Regions from separate parts of the Homo sapiens genome. Here regions 2, 3 and 4 are each linked to region 1. Evidence: promoter capture Hi-C in 16 types of primary human blood cells and fetal thymus (Javierre and others, 2016). All regions are on one chromosome and are shown on one strand. Each heading gives the region's core, a stretch centred on a gene start or on the middle of the fragment in contact. The rest is flanking DNA. Distances are from core to core; before and after follow the strand shown.

Region 1 (3,737 bases), core at 568-3,067:
AACCAGGAGAAGCTGTCAGATGGAGGCAGCTGAGACATTAGAAGCCAGGGGCCAGGTCTTCAAAACACACACATCCTTGGCACAGATGGAAAACCTAGAGGATTCAGGGGTCTGGCAGGCAGGAAAACAGCTTTGACCGGCAACCTCTGTGCCTTCTGTGAGGACCCTGGGAGAAATAATAAGGGGAAAATGATTGTAACGAACGTGTACCTAGAGGAGAGGGTGCCTGGGAGACAAAGCAGCTTATAAGCTAGTTCACAGGATAGCAGTGAATTGGAGCAGAGCTAAGAAAACCCACAGACAACCCTCAACACATAACGAAGTCTATTCCCCTGCCCCAGTGGGGAAGATGTACTTCCCTATGTTCCTAAAGATGTTCACGCCCTCTAACGAACCTGACCTAGTGAGTACTAAAATCAGTGTCAATCTAACAAACGAAATGCAATTGGCTTGTGTGATGGTGGAGCAGAGTATCTCTGACTGTGGTGGTTATGCAAGGCTGCACGTATGTGATACAACTGCACTGTGCTCTACACACACGAGCGCGTGTATAACTCAGGAATTCTGGATATTGATTGGAGCAATGCCACTTGAAACAATGCATTGGTGCAGAAGTAACTTAGCTAAATGTCCCCAGAACATCGCATCCGGAGGCTATCTGTATAGTGCACACACTTCATTGTTTGGTAACATTCTCTTTGGTTATATTCTACACTATTCCGTGCTCTAGAAAGGGAGGTGACTGCCCCGACCAGTTAACCCACAAGGGCAGGAACGAGGGACTCTGCAGGTCATCTGCGTTATAAGGGAAAGTTGGGCAGGAGGTCCCTGCCGCTGAGCAGGCCTGGGGTGAGAACTAGGAGCTGAGAACAGCTACGGTGTCCAAGGGGACGGAGAAGCACAGGGAACTCGCTACGACTCTGCGAGTAGAGGGGAGGCGGGGTGTCTTTCCGCTCCACACCTACCAGTCGGCCTTCTTCAGGCAGTCGACCGCTGCCCCCCGGCCCAGCAGGTAGCGCACGCAGTCTCGGTGGCCCATGGAGGCCGCCTCGTGCAGAGGCCGCTTGTAGTCTCGGTTGGTGGCCTCGATGTCCATGCCCCAGGCCTCGGCCAGATAGGCCAGCACGTCCCGATGCCCGTGGCGCGCGGCGCAGTGCAGGAGGGTATCCCCGGCCGGCCCCGGGCAGCCCCCGGCCGCCTGCAGCTCCTCCTTCAGGGCGCGCAGCCGGCCCTCCTGCACCAGCCTGCAGAGGCGCCGCGGGTCCCCGGGCTGGGCCATCGCCGCGGGTCGGGCCGGGCTGCGCGGGGAGGCGGCGGGCGGGACACCGGCGGCCGGGCAGGGAGAAGCCGAGGGCGAGTGGGACTTTCCGCCTCTTCACGCAACCTGCCCCGCGCGCCCCGAACCCGGCAGAACCGCCCCTCACGCCCCCGGCTTTGTCCCCGGCAGAGCCGCCTCCTCAAACCCCCGGCCTAGTCCGCAGGCGGGCTGCCCCCTCACAGCCCCGGCCTGCCCCGCGTGGGAGAAGCCGCGGTTCCGGGCACGGGGCGGTTTTTCCTCAGGGACGGAGCGGTCCGGGATGAGCACGGAGGGGCCTGGGGATCCGAGAGCGCTGGCGTCCGCCGTCCTGGAGCTGCAGCGGCCCGTACGTGATTCGGGACTGAACACGTAAGGGAGTGGGGCGCGCCGCTACACCGCAAAGCCCCAAAGTGGAGGGTCCGGGAGGGCGCGCACAGCCTCGCCCGGCGCCGTGCAGGGTGGCTCCTGAGGCAGCCAGGCCCAAGCGTGACCTGCCCCGCACGCGTCCTCAGGGCCGCCCCAGCCTCCAGCCCCTGGGGGCCGGCGTTCCTGGGCTCCGCCCCCGTCCCCGCCCCTCGACCGCCGCTGCTCCGCGGGGACTCGGGGAGCTCGAAGGAACTCTGGGAAAGTTTCCCGCTCCGCCCCGGCCCGAGCGGAAGCGCGGATGGGGCGTGGCCCGGTAGCTGTGGCCGCGCCCCCACCGATTGCGCATTTCGATTGGCGTTAGTGGCCGTCCGTCAGCACGCCCCCTCCGGTCTCGCGTCCCGATTGGTCGCGGGGGCCGTCAGTCCGGCTCCGGCGGCGGGCGCTTCCCGGGGCTGCGGCGGGGCGGAGCTCGCGGAGGAAGTCGGCGGGCGTCTCGGGCTCCAGGTCCCGGCCAGAGGAGGAGCTCGCTGCCGGGGGACGCTGGGCTGAGCGGCCGGCGGCGCGGGCCCGGCGGCGGCGGCAGCGGGGTCCGGGTCCGGAGCGCCACAGTGCGTGAGGCCGCAGACGTGGCAGGGAGTGTGGGAGGGGCTCCGCCGTGTGGAAAACTTAACCTCCGGGGTCCTGCGCGGGGGGTCCGGGCCCGGGGTGGGGCAGCGGGGGCCCCGGGGGCGCGAGGCTGGGCTCGGGCAAGCGCGGGCGTGGGGGCTCGGCCGTCCGGGCCGTGGGCAGGTGGAGGGCGCGGCGGGGGTGCGCGGGGGAGGCCAGGGCGCTCACTGAACTCGGTCGGGAGCGGCCCCCGCGCTGCCCCCCGAGGCCAGGAAGGCGCAGCGTGTGGGTCCTCGGGGCTGAAGGGGCAAGCGCGGGGACGTGGCCTCGGCTGCTAGGAGGCCAGGCTTTCCCGTCTACTCTGACGTTTTGACCTTGGGCAAGTCATTTTTCGCTGCCCTCTGCCCCTGTGTCATCGGTAGCTTCTCTGCCCCTCCTCTGAGCATGGGAAGCCTAAGGCGATGTGGGAGGCCTGGCGCTGGTGGAGGGCACGGCGAGAGCTGGGCAGGCTGTGGGTGATGGAAGAGATCAGTAGGTGTTGGGTTCCTTACCCGATCTGATTAGGTGCCAGTCACTTAACCTCTCCATGTTTTCGATTCCTTTAGGGAGTAGAATGGGAGTAGCTCCTATTTGCCAGGCCTAAAAACGAGTGCCGTTTACATTTTTTATTGCAGTCTGTGGTCCGAAGACAACCCTATGAGGCATCAGTAGGGTTTTACAGGTGGGGAAGTGGAGGCCTAACCAAGTCAGTGACTTTCTTACAGAATTACAGGTAATAAAGTCTTCTGGAAGGCAGGATGGTAGCATGTGTTGAGTGTCCGCCAGCGTCTGCCGCTGTGGTAAAATGAGCGGAGATAAATGAAAAGACTTCTGGAATGGGCCCATGAAGATAAGTCCGTTTTACTCATGAGCAGATTGAGTTTGGTTAAGGTAACAGTGATGTGGATAGCCTCTGGAGACAGAACTAGTCCAAGTACCAGCTTTGCTCAGGTTATTGTTCTGTCGTGCCTTGTCACTCCAGCAAAAGAAAAAAAGGAAGGCATAAAAGTTGTTTGAAATGCACAAAAGTGTAGGGCGTGCCAAGCAGTGTTCTGCTGCCGTTGAAGTTAGTGCAAATTGGAAGTTGAGGCATCTGGTAGCTTCATGCTTTTTGCTTTTACCCCTGCCCCTCTCCCAGTTTCAGATGACTATCTTCTCTTGCATTATGTCTCTAGTTTCCCTGTTTTTTAAACATAATTGGGACACACGGGTTCACAGTAGGTTGGAATATATATATATATTTTGAGACAGAGTCTCGCTCTGTTGCTCCGGGTGGAGTGCAGTGGCACGATCTCGGCTCACTGCAACCTCCCCCTCCCGGGTTCAAGCAATTCTCCTGCCTCAGCCTCCCGAGTAGCTGGGATTACAGGCGTGTGCCACCATGCTCGGCTAATTTTTTTGTATTTTTAGTAGAGACGGGGTTTCACCA
Region 2 (3,737 bases), core at 614-3,113, 200 kb after region 1:
GGAGTTTGAGACCAGCCTGGCCAACATGGTGAAATATCATCTCTACCAAAACTACAAAAATTAGCAGGGCGTGGTGGCAGGCGTCTGTAATCCCACCTACTCAGGAGGTTGAGGCAGGAGAATTGCTCGAACCCAGGAGGTGGAGGTTGCAGTGAGCCCAGATCATACCATCGCACTCCAGCCTGGGCAACAAGAGAGAGACTCCATCGAAAGAAAAAGAAAGAAAGAAAGAAAGAAAGAAAGAAAGAAAGAAAGAAAGAAAGAAGGAAAGAAGGAAAGAAGGAAAGAAGGAAAGAAGGAAAGAAGGAAAGAAGGAAAGAAGGAAGGAAGGAAGGAAGGAAGGAAGGAAAGATTTCTGAAATGGCCGAAGCTGCTTAGAGATATACATGCCTGTAATCCCAGCACTTTGGGAGGCCGAGGTGGGCGGATCACCGGAGGTCAGGAGTTCGAGACCAGCCTGGCCAACATGGTGAAACCCCGTCTCTACTAAAAATACAAAAAGTAGCCGGGCATGGTGGCGGGCACCTGTAATCCCAGCTACTTAGGAAGCTGAGGCAGGAGAATCGCTTGAACCCGGGAGGCGGAGGTTGCAGTGAGCTGAGATTACTCCATTGCACTCCAGCCTGGGTGACAAGAGCAAGACTCCGTCTCAAAAAAAAAAAAAAAAAAAAAGATACAAAAAAGGAGACAAAAATCATTCTCCACGGTGCACCGAAAGCATCCCTACACACAGAATCCTTGGGAATACTTGTTTTTGATCAAATTATAATCTGATCAAATTGTCTTAACTAGCTTGTCTTCCCTCCAGGGCCCACACCCCTTTCTTTTCCTGTTTCGGGGTCCCCCGGTTCCATCCATGCTGCATACTGTAGCATTTCACCCAGCCTTTCCTGCCAGCCCAAACACCGCCCTTATCTTCTTTCTTCCTGGAACATCTGCCCTGCTAATTCCCAGTTTCCGATGAATTCTACCATCTGCTGCCTGCCAGCCTCCTGCCAGGCGCTGAGCACAGCTGGAGCAGATCACACGACTTGTTTACGCAGGAGTCACTACCGATGTTTGCTCTGCAGCCCCGAGGGGGCGCTCCAGCGCGTCTGTCTTGTCCCTCTTCTAAAGCTCCACCGTTTTGTGTGCGCTTTCTGATAGTTGCATGGCCTGGGTTCTGTTCCCCCATTGGGTTAAGCTTTGGATTCTCGGTGCATAAAATAAAGATGATATTTGTTACTATTGACAGGAAATGGAGGCAAGCATGAGACTGCTCACGTACTAGGAAATGAAGTAAGGCAGTTTTCCTCCTGGAAGTTAAACTAGAAAATTCCTAAACAATGGATGTGATTGCATCTATGGTCTGTAAACCAAAAAGTTACTTGTGTATGTATGATGGAATGATTTGGGAACAAAGGCACAAATTTTCAACCAAAAAGGGAGGAAGGAGTGGTCTCAGACTGCAGAGTGGAGACGCCAAGCAGATTAGGGAGTACAGGTAGACAGCAGGTTCAACCTGGAGGAAGTCCTGCAGCTCTGGACCTCCTAATCAGGGCTTTTGCACCCCCACCGGTGCTTTGATCACGGGGTGGGGAGAGACCCAGTCTAGACACCTTCTATCTTTGCCCTTCTTCCTTTTTCTGTTTACACGCTATTACTTTCTGCTTCTTTTATTGACCAAGTACGTCCTTCTGCTTCTCACATTTTTATTTTATTTCCAGTTTCTTGCACAAGTGCTTAATTCATTTAGCTTTTTCCAAGTTTTTAATTGATACAAAAACTTAAAACCATGAATTTTCCTCTTAGTACTCTCTGAGCTAAATCCCATGAGTATGTCATTTTCATACTTTTCTAGATATTATGTTATTTTGATTTTGTTTTCCTTTTTAGTCCAAGTGTTATTTAAGCATTTAAAAATTTTCAAGGGGTAGGCATGTTTTATTTTCTGTTTTTTCATTAATTTCTACTTTTATTGAATTGCTGCAGATAATATTACCGATATGATTCTACTTATTGGACTATGTTAAGATTTTTCTCTGTGGTTTAAAATATGACTAATTGTTGTGAATATTCCTTAGACACTGGAAAAGATGTAATGTCTATTTAGGGGACAGTGTTTGATATATTAGATCTATCATAGGAATTGTATTTTTAGGTCTTCTCAATCCCCATTTACTTTTTGTACTCTTCGTCTGGCAAGGAGTGTGCCAATTATTTCTGTCTATTCACTCACTCCTACAGTGTTTGCTATGAATAATGAGATTATGTGATTTGGTGCAAAGATTTTCCTATTTTTCCTATTTTTTTCTTGATTGTGAATTGTGCTCCTCAAGATTATAAAATGTCCTTCTTAATCTTACTTAATGCTTTTTGCCCTGAAATCAACTTTGTAGTAAGCGGTTTGTGATTCCTGATTTTTTTAATTTTTTTGCATATTCCTGGTATATCTTTTCCAATCTTGTATTTTCAAACTCAGAATAACGTTAGCACTTTCTTGTATACAACACTGAGTTGCATGATGGTTTGTGCTCCTATCTGAGATTGTAGTTTTTTAGTAGGTAAGCTTAGGTCTATATTTCTTCTTGTGAGACATTTGGTCTTGTTCTGTCATATAGTTTGGTTACGCTTTCTGTTTTGTAACTTTTTAAAATATTTCCCTATATATATATTTTTTTTGCTGTGGTTTTGTGTGTGTGTGTGTGTGTGTGCATGCATGTATGTGTGGGTGCATGTATGTGTGGATTATTTGAAAGCTTTGTAGTTTTGTTCTGGGTTACCCTCAGAATCATACCATCCCATGACGTCCTTAATCCTCTATTTCTTTAGATTGTCTTTTGTCTCTCCACTGTATTTCTTTTTTCCCCCTTTTCCCGTTTTCTTAATGACTGGATTTTAATGGATTATAGTAACTTTCTTGGTATACTCCTTCGGACTAAGACGTCTGCTTAAATCTCTACTATTTGATTTATCGGCTTGAACTCTATTTGACACCCAATTAATTACAGATGTAAAAATCATATTTACCCGAAGTCCCACTTTCCCTTTCCCTCCCTGCTTCTGTCAGCGACGTCGTTTTTAAAGACCGAGGCTTTATAGCATTGACATTCTTTTCTGTACCCCTAATCGCGGCATCTGTTTCCATAATCTTACGCTTAACCTCGTGCTCCTTGCCATCCTTTTGCAGCATCTGGCCTATGCAGACTTATTTTCAACTTTTTGCTTATATAGGAGTGGCTTTGAATGAATGAGATCGAGGGGCCTGGAGGGACTTCCCCCACCTCCCCTATCAGAAAGCCCGGCCTCGGACCACTTCTCCTCCTCACCATCTGGGGGCGCTGCCGCGCTCCCCAAGCCTTGTGGAATTTCGAAAATGTGCGCCAGGGCGACACCTCTTGATGGTAAGAAGACGCCGGCGGAGGGGAGCGTGCAGTGCGGTCCTCCCGCGGGCAGGGGGCAGTGCGGCAAGGCGCCCTCGGCGCAGGCGCAGAGGCCGAAGCAGGCGCAGGCGCAGGCGGGGCGCAGGCGCGGGCGCGCTCTCCCGGCAGCCCGCGCTCCCTGACCCCGCGCCGCCGAGCGCCCTGAGGACTCAGCGAAGGGTGGGCGCCGCCGAGGCCTCCTGCCGCTGGCGGGTTTCCGCGGAGTGCCGCCCGGCTCCGCTCTGCCGCCGGCGCGGCTCATGGGCAGAGTCGGCCGGGCGGGCCGGGTAAGTGGCGCCCCGGCGGCCCCGGGTGGGTGGCCTGGCGGGACCTGAG
Region 3 (3,737 bases), core at 839-3,338, 180 kb before region 1:
CAAGTTTTACCGTCTTAGATTTTTAGGTTTCTTTGTGGTATAGCCCCCTCTTCATTTTCATAGTCTGGTAATCTTGAATGTTTAAATAAAGCTTGAGCATTGCTCAGCAGTTATGAGACCATTCATTCATAAAGTGTTTGTATTGTTTGGTGCACTGATTGGACTCTCAAATGAAAGTGTATTTTGTAAAGAAGGGAGAGCGTCAAATTTCTAGATGAAATTTTCATCTGTCTCCTCATTTACTGAACAGGAAACTTGTGCTTTCTTGAGAGTGTAATTGATGTCATTATGAACCCATGAAAGATTTAAGATTAGCTATGATTTTCCAACAACTTTGTTTTTAACATACCTCTGCTAACCATAAAATCACTGCTTTTATGCATATACTGCTATATATTGAAGAATACTGGCCTAAAGTGGAAGCATTTTTAACCATAAATAAATAGTTCTGGAAATAAAAATATATATAAGCAAAAAATAATTTGGTACTTGTTCCTCCTCCTTCGTTTTAAATCATTGGCTTTATTTATAGCTATATAGGGAACAGTATTCCCCACACTGGTGTTAATGAAGTGTTCTCTGACCATGTATTTGGGAAACCCTGTATTAGTGTTTTTAATTGCACCATCTCTTCAGTTTTCAGTTCATTATTGTGCATTATGATGCTCAAAAATGAGGACGTATGTAACTTAAATCTGTGCCTACCTATTAATGACTTACAGAATTTAGAGAAGTTGATAATCACAGTCTTCATTTCCAGAGTTACTTTTTAAAATATTTCTTTCAGTGTAAACAATGTGTTTCTCAAATATTGGTCTATAGGTAATTCAATTTTGAAACTTTCTTGCTTTTTTATAAATATCAAATATAAAGTTCCCAAAATTATTGTTTCTAAAGAAATCTTGATTTGTGTTTAGGCTAGCAGTACAGATTATTTGTAAAATGAATTTGAAAATGCTCAGGTTTGCCAGTTTGTTTTGAGTAATGCAGCTAATAAAGCTTTAATTTTAACTCTTATAACTGGTGTTTTGCTATTTGCATCTATTCAGAATATCCCTATTTTTTAAAGCACTGGTATATTGAAGGAGAAAGTGAAACTGAGCAAAAGTAAAAGTAAAACTTAGAATGAATATATAAATCATGTATATCAACTTCAGAATATTCGTAAACATTTCATTCTTTTCTATTTACAGTCTTTCATTTTGATACTTGGAAGTTTATTAAAAGATTTTTTAAATGCCTTGATAATTAAAGTATTAGGACAATTTAGTCTAAATTTAGCTTACTAAAATGTTTGCTTTCATTTCTGAGATAGTCTAGTTTTTGTATATTGGTTACTTACAAGTTAGTTTTAATTGAGATTCTTTTTTCTCTTTAATTTTTGAACTTTAATACATTTGGCAGTTTTGGTAAAAGTAGGAAGCCATATTACTGTACTTCATAACATTTATACTATATGACCAGTACTTCCAGTGCTATATAAATCATTCTCTTCTCCTTATTGTTTATAAATACTAGGTTTGTAAAACCCCCCAACCTTAATAAAGAGAATAGAAAGAGTACAAATAGGAGAGTGAACAGTTAAAATGGTTAGATGCAAGAGTGTCCGTAGGTCATTAGGCTCAGTTCTTGCTAAAGTAGAGACTTGTAAAATCAAAAGGCACAAAGAGTCAGTCAACATAATTACTGGATCCAGTCGGTAATTCTCAATTAGGAAACGTGCCTCTCATGGGAAGGGTGTATCACAGTCCCTCAAAGCTATCTCACATGGGTATGGTTTGAAAAAAGCACCTTCAAAAAATTGTAAGTACAGCTCTGTTGTATAAAATGAAAGAAAGTGATTTTATAATACAACTCACAGGAAGTAAAACTCAATAGACTCTTCTTGACGGGTGAGGAAATCCCAGAGATACAATGATTTCTATTGTGTCTGGTGAGTGGGCAATAGTAGGTCCCTTAAAAGGGACCTAGCTGACTTAGGGATTTAATGAAAATATGTAAAGAGTAAGTTTATCAAGTGTGGCGTATATATTTAAAAAAAAAAGAATAGAAACAAAGGATGAAAAAAACTAAAGAATGAGAAATTGCTCTAAAAGTCTAAGCAGCTCCTGACCACCACCTTGACACTACAGTTGTATCCACTTTTGACCAACTACAGTTATAGTACACAGCTTTCAACCAAAAGACATACCAGGTCTGGCAGGACATATTTTAGCTCCTGTACTAAAAGTAATTCAGCTTCAGTTCTAATTTATTTAGGTTATTTTCTTTACATCAGAGGTCTTTTAAATTTTGTTAAGACAGTACAAATATTTCTTAGTTATATAGGAAAGGAATAGGTGATGTTTTGAGTGATATTCAGTGTGTCTCCCTTAACCCCATCCTTTGGAATCTTAAATAGCTGCGTTATTTTTGTTTGTGTTTTACAGTTTTTGAGACAGTGTCCTTGAGTTCAGACTCTCTCTTCCAGAGGGCAGTTTCACTCCTCCATACTTCTTACTTGGACTCTTCATCTGAGCATGGTTTTCAGTACAGTCAAGTGACTTTGGTGAAAAATGACATTTTCTTAAATGAGGTGAGGTGCTTGGTACACACTATGATGGTTTTGTTTTAGTTTTAAAAGAGGTAAACCCATCATTTTTGGTATATAAGCCTAGCACTTTTTAGCTATAATTTTTCAGACGCAGCAGATCCTTGGAAATAGTCACTTGGAAGGTAATTATTCTAGGGAATAGAAAAATAATGCATTTATGTTTAGTCTTAATGGCAGGAAGAATTCAAATGATGCATTTTTAAAAATTTGCAAGACAAAATAGTATGTTTATAGCGTTTGGTTATTCTGTTCTCTCTTTATACAGTACAAAACTTTTTACCAACAAAAAAAAGCAAGTAGTTATACTCAGGAAGAACTTCAAGACACTTACGGGTTTCTTCTGTTTGATACTGAAAAGCAGGTAAGGGAATTAGGTTGTAGAAAATTAATGGTATCATTAGTCTTAAGTATTGTGGTACTTCAGTTCTGTAAGAGTTGTAAGATTACCAATTCATCAGTGTTTTTTGTTGCTTAGTTTGGTGGCATGTAAATGACAGCAACAAAAAAGCCAGTCATGAAGGAGATTTGATTTGATTTCTACAACTTTTCACGGTTTCTCTTTAGTTTTATCTGAAATACATTTGTAAGCTTAGGGTGCAATTTGGATTAAAACAGTTTTCTTTAGTGTCAATAATGGCCTTTACTAGAGTGAATGGATATTTTTCCATTCTGGATTATCGTTTAATCGAAACTTTGTTTCCTGTGGAAATTTTTCTGGTTTAAGTTATTTGATTTGGGAGATAAATCATGTAACTTAATAAACTTTGGCATCCTGGTTAACTGAAATTGCTTCATTCAATATTTGAAGACTGAAATCTGTATTGTTGCCTGTACCTAAATTATGGGAGAAGGAAAGGACCGTGTACAGGGTAGGTCTCCAAAGATATGTATGGCTTCCGAGATACATTTTAAACAATACCAGAGATCTAAAATAATTCAAAGTTAGTGCTTCGATTAGGTTAATGGTTTATAAAGAAGGGGGGCAGATTTGTTTAGCGGATAATTAGCACTAACATATAATAAGGACTATATAGTAATACCAGAAGAGTTTATCCCTTTTGAAATTTAATCGTCTGAATTCAAATAACACGCTCTGGGTTCTTACTAAAAATGACATTTGGCAACAAGACATTTTGAAATTTCA
Region 4 (3,737 bases), core at 853-3,352, 160 kb after region 1:
GTCTTTGTATTCATCTGTGAGTGGGTCAAAATGCCTGTCTGCTGCCCTGGCCCTCTTCTGCAGCCATGCTGAGAGGAAATACAGGCTTGCATTTCTCCAGAGTTCCTTGAAAGCATTGGTGCTCAACTATCCCTGCCTTAACACAAATTCTTAGTCAACACACAACATTTGATCTCTGATAGTTTCAGTGGGTGGGTTCTATTCTTTTCAACAGATACCTCAGGGTTAGTGGGGGTGAGCTCAGATGCTCCTGCAATGGGCATTCACACTGGGCTTCTTGGAGAGCTGAATTCCAAGGTGGCCACGTTTCCTAAGGACATGGGAACTTAAGATGCAGGCAGGGATCCCATGTCCTACTGGAAGGTTTAAAGACTTCCTCAGCACAGTGCTGAGAAGATCCTGCTTTTTACTCGGGTGTGGGACAAGTAGTTATGAAGCCACAGAATGTTAGGACTGAAAGGGACAAAGACCCTCTCCATGTCTCTGCATGCTTGCATGGAGAACATGCATTGTCCAAGGACCCTCAAATCCCTGCATGCCCTGCGCATGCCCTAACCCTGAGGAGGTGCTGAACCCTTGCTGATGTGCAGAAGGGGTTAATCAGACCATGTGGACACAGGTAGCCCAAGGAACAACCCCCATGCCAACAGCACTCCATCCCGACCTCATACCATGTGCACAGCACCTGATGCTGGTGGGGTCAGGAGTGTGGCCTGTGCCACACTCAGAACGCGGGATGAACATAGAGGAAACACTAGAATGGCAAAGGCTGGTTGTCACCTGGGGGCCTCAGAAGCCACGGCACCAGAGGAGAGCTCAGGAGTCAGCCTGCTCCAAAGCTCTTCCTGCCTGTAGCATGCACCCTGTGCCTCCGGGCCACCAAAAACAGCAATCACGTCAGCTGAGACGCAACACACTGCATGCCGAACACACAGGAGAGCTCACACGCACAAATGTTCTCGGCTTCCCAGACACCAATGAAGGAGCTTATTATGAATATGAAGGATAATTAACGTATCTATTATTTTATTAGACATCACAATTCAAATACAATAAAGTATATAAATATAAATATATAATAAATGAAATATATAAAATACCATCTTAGCTTATGAAATTATCTTATATGATAAAATAATTATACAGATATATAATAAGCAATTAGGGTATGTTATATAAAATACTATAGTATACTCATTAATATAATTAGTATATTATATGATAAATATATATAATAAAAGACATCATACACTAATAGAGTATAATAGTCAATATAATTAAAATTATTACTTATGCAGTAATTAATTATGAGGTGATGTGTTCTTCTCATCTCCGTTCTCTAGAGGCAGGAACTAAGGCACAGAGAGGCCCAGTGACTTGCCCAGAGACACACAGCCCCTCAGTGGTGGAGCTAGGACTTGGACCCAGGCAGCCTGACAAGTGCGTGCTCTTACGCACAAGTGTCTGCCTGTCCTCCCGCCTATCCTCCCTCATGTGCTGGCTGCATCCTGCTCCCGTGGCCCCTGACCCTCAACTGCCCTTGTCATGTGCCCGTCATGCATCACAGGAAGGCTGTCATGGGAGTCCTGAGGTGGGTGGTGATAAGTAAGCAAGAAGAGGGGTTGCTGGCGTTAAGAGATTTTAGAAGTTGGAATTGCCAAAAATTGAGGCTGGATTATTAGGTGCATGGAGGACAGCAAGGAAGAAATGAGGATTTTGCCCAGATTTCCTGGGCGATGGGGAGGATGGGGTGCCATTCATTGAGATAGCAAAGAGAGGAGAAAGAGTAGGTTCCAGGGAGGGAGGACAGTTCTGGATGTGTAGACTGAGCAGCCTGTGAGGCATCCACACGGAAAGGTCCGAGGGAAGGGCCTTTGGCCATGCAGACTAGAAGCCCAGCAAGTCACATTTAGTGAGCACCTACTGTGTGCTCTGGTCACTCTAGGCAGGCTAGCTTATGTAGCCTTACAGCACCCAGCAGGGTCTGTGTTATTCCCATTTTATACGAACAGAAGCTGAGGCCCACCGAGGTTAAAACCCTACCCTCATGGACTTCCATGGAGGTTACTCAATGCCCTATGGGTTTGCCTTTCTGCTTCCCTTCATTCTTCACATAAACCCAGTGCTTTCTCTTCTTCCTTCATTCTTCACATAAACCCAATGCTGTCTCTCCAAAGTACAAGCCATGCCCTGACTGAGACCCCTCTGGGATGTTCTGTTCCTTCCAGGACACAGTTTAAGCCCAGTGACATGGGGAGACTCCAAGACACAGCTCATGCCCAACTTCAAAATCTCTGCTTCCACTATGTGCCTGAGCTCTCCTGCCTTGCGGGACTCTGCGTGGCTCTTGGAGCTCACCATGTGTTTTGTCTTGGGCCTTGGTCATTGTATTATTCAGGGAAACAGAATTTCTCTAGAGAAACAAAACCAATAGGATGTATGTAGATAAATAAGAGAATATTTATAATGGGAGTTGGCTCACTCAATTATGGAGGCTGAGAAGTCCCACAATATGCCAGCTGGAGCTGGATAACTAGGAAAGCTGGTGGTGTGGCTCAGTCTAAGACTGAAGGCCTGAGGAGCAGAGGGGCCCTGCTGTAAGTCCCAGAGTCCAAAAGCTGGAGAACCAGGAGTGCAAATGTCCAAGAGCAGACGACGGATGTCCCAGCTTGAACAGAGAGAATGCAACCTTCCTCTGCCTTCTTGTTCTATTCTGGTCCTCTATGGTTGGATGATCCCCACCACACTGGTGAGGGTGATTTTCTTTACTCAGTCTACCAACAAGAAATTTACCCAGTCTATTCAATTCAAATGCTAGTGTCTCCTGGAAATACCCTCACAGACACCCCCAGAGAGACTGTTTAGCCAGCTATCTGGGCATCCCTTAGCCCAGGCAAGTGGACACATTGAAATTGACCATCATGCTCATGCCACACTTCCCTAATGCATTTCTACCTTCTTAACTCCTGCTTTCCCTGGAGGTCTCCCATTGGCTGTCATCTTTCTCTGGGAAGCCTCCGGGACTCTTCTGTCTGTGCTTTGTGGCATTTCTCTGCAGTCCCAGACTTTGCTCCCTTTTCTTTACACGGCACTCACCCTACTGTATCCATCTCCCTCCCACCACCTTGCTAGTGCCTGCACAGAATGGCATGCAAAGGTTTTCGTAAAGGAAAGTAGAAATTCACAAGTTCAAGCTAGGATTTGAATTCAAGCTGTCAACTTTCCAAATTCATAAGACTTTTCCATTCTCTCAAGACGCTTTTCTGGTTGGGAAAAATTCCGGTAGGCAGACAAGATGGGGAAGATTGTTCCAGTAAGGGAGGAGGGTGTTCCTGGGAGTCCAGCTTTGAAATCACAAATGAGGAGGTTCCCTTTGAAGGACAGGAGGAGACCTGCTGGCCAAGGCGTGCTATGTGCTGAGGGAACAGTCTTGGCTGGGGAGCATGTTGTGTGCCAGGCAGAGGAGGTAGCAAAGTGCCCCTGAGGCAATGGAAATGACTGGAGCTCTTGCAGCCGAAAGGGCATCACGACAGGTGCTTTCAGGGGAGATTAACTTGGGGATGAATAACAGGGTGACTGAAAACCAGAGCTTCAGGGCCTGCCTAGGCAGCCCAGGAGATGAACAGTGCCTGTTGACAGCTTGCTTCCTGTGTCGGCCTGAATGCATGGGTTCTGCTCAGATCTACTGGCTCCTTGCTTTCTTGGGAGAGTGAATTACTGCCTCATGGTCTCAGTTT

The links. The method cuts DNA at HindIII sites, captures the fragments that hold promoters and counts their contacts. A CHiCAGO score of 5 or more calls a contact.
Region 2: a fragment that was not itself captured here is called in contact with the fragment with the promoter of ANKRD16 in region 1 in 3 of 17 cell types (total B cells, megakaryocytes and naive B cells); the score reaches 7.1 in total B cells.
Region 3: a contact is called between a fragment that was not itself captured here and the fragment with the promoter of ANKRD16 in region 1, in 1 of 17 cell types (total B cells). The highest score is 5.2, in total B cells.
Region 4: a contact is called between a fragment that was not itself captured here and the fragment with the promoter of ANKRD16 in region 1, in 1 of 17 cell types (naive B cells). The highest score is 5.0, in naive B cells.

The regions. Positions count from the first base shown.
Region 1 is chr10:5,888,076-5,891,812 of GRCh38, forward strand. ANKRD16 (ankyrin repeat domain 16) reads right to left here and starts at 1,818. Exons shown (of 8, transcript NM_019046.3): 1 at 966-1,818. The coding sequence starts at 1,279. It overlaps FBH1 (F-box DNA helicase 1), which reads left to right and starts at 2,168. Exons shown (of 21, transcript NM_178150.3): 1 at 2,168-2,271. The coding sequence starts at 2,271. RefSeq lists silencers at 1,101-1,380, 1,391-1,500, 1,641-2,360, 2,551-2,600. The HindIII fragment of the contact is 13,083 bases long and covers 1-3,737 here.
Region 2 is chr10:6,085,506-6,089,242 of GRCh38, forward strand. It overlaps RBM17 (RNA binding motif protein 17), which reads left to right and starts at 3,529. Exons shown (of 12, transcript NM_032905.5): 1 at 3,529-3,688. RefSeq lists an enhancer at 3,181-3,230 and a silencer at 3,391-3,737. The HindIII fragment of the contact is 1,365 bases long and covers 1,182-2,546 here.
Region 3 is chr10:5,709,965-5,713,701 of GRCh38, forward strand. TASOR2 (transcription activation suppressor family member 2) reads left to right here. Exons shown (of 22, transcript NM_001321783.2): 2 at 2,859-2,954. Among named protein-coding and RNA genes, the nearest start is that of TASOR2, 27 kb to the left of the region's middle. The HindIII fragment of the contact is 2,182 bases long and covers 998-3,179 here.
Region 4 is chr10:6,046,594-6,050,330 of GRCh38, forward strand. The region is part of intron 1 of IL2RA (interleukin 2 receptor subunit alpha); the gene reads right to left. Among named protein-coding and RNA genes, the nearest start is that of IL2RA-AS1, 13 kb to the left of the region's middle. The HindIII fragment of the contact is 9,510 bases long and covers 1-3,737 here.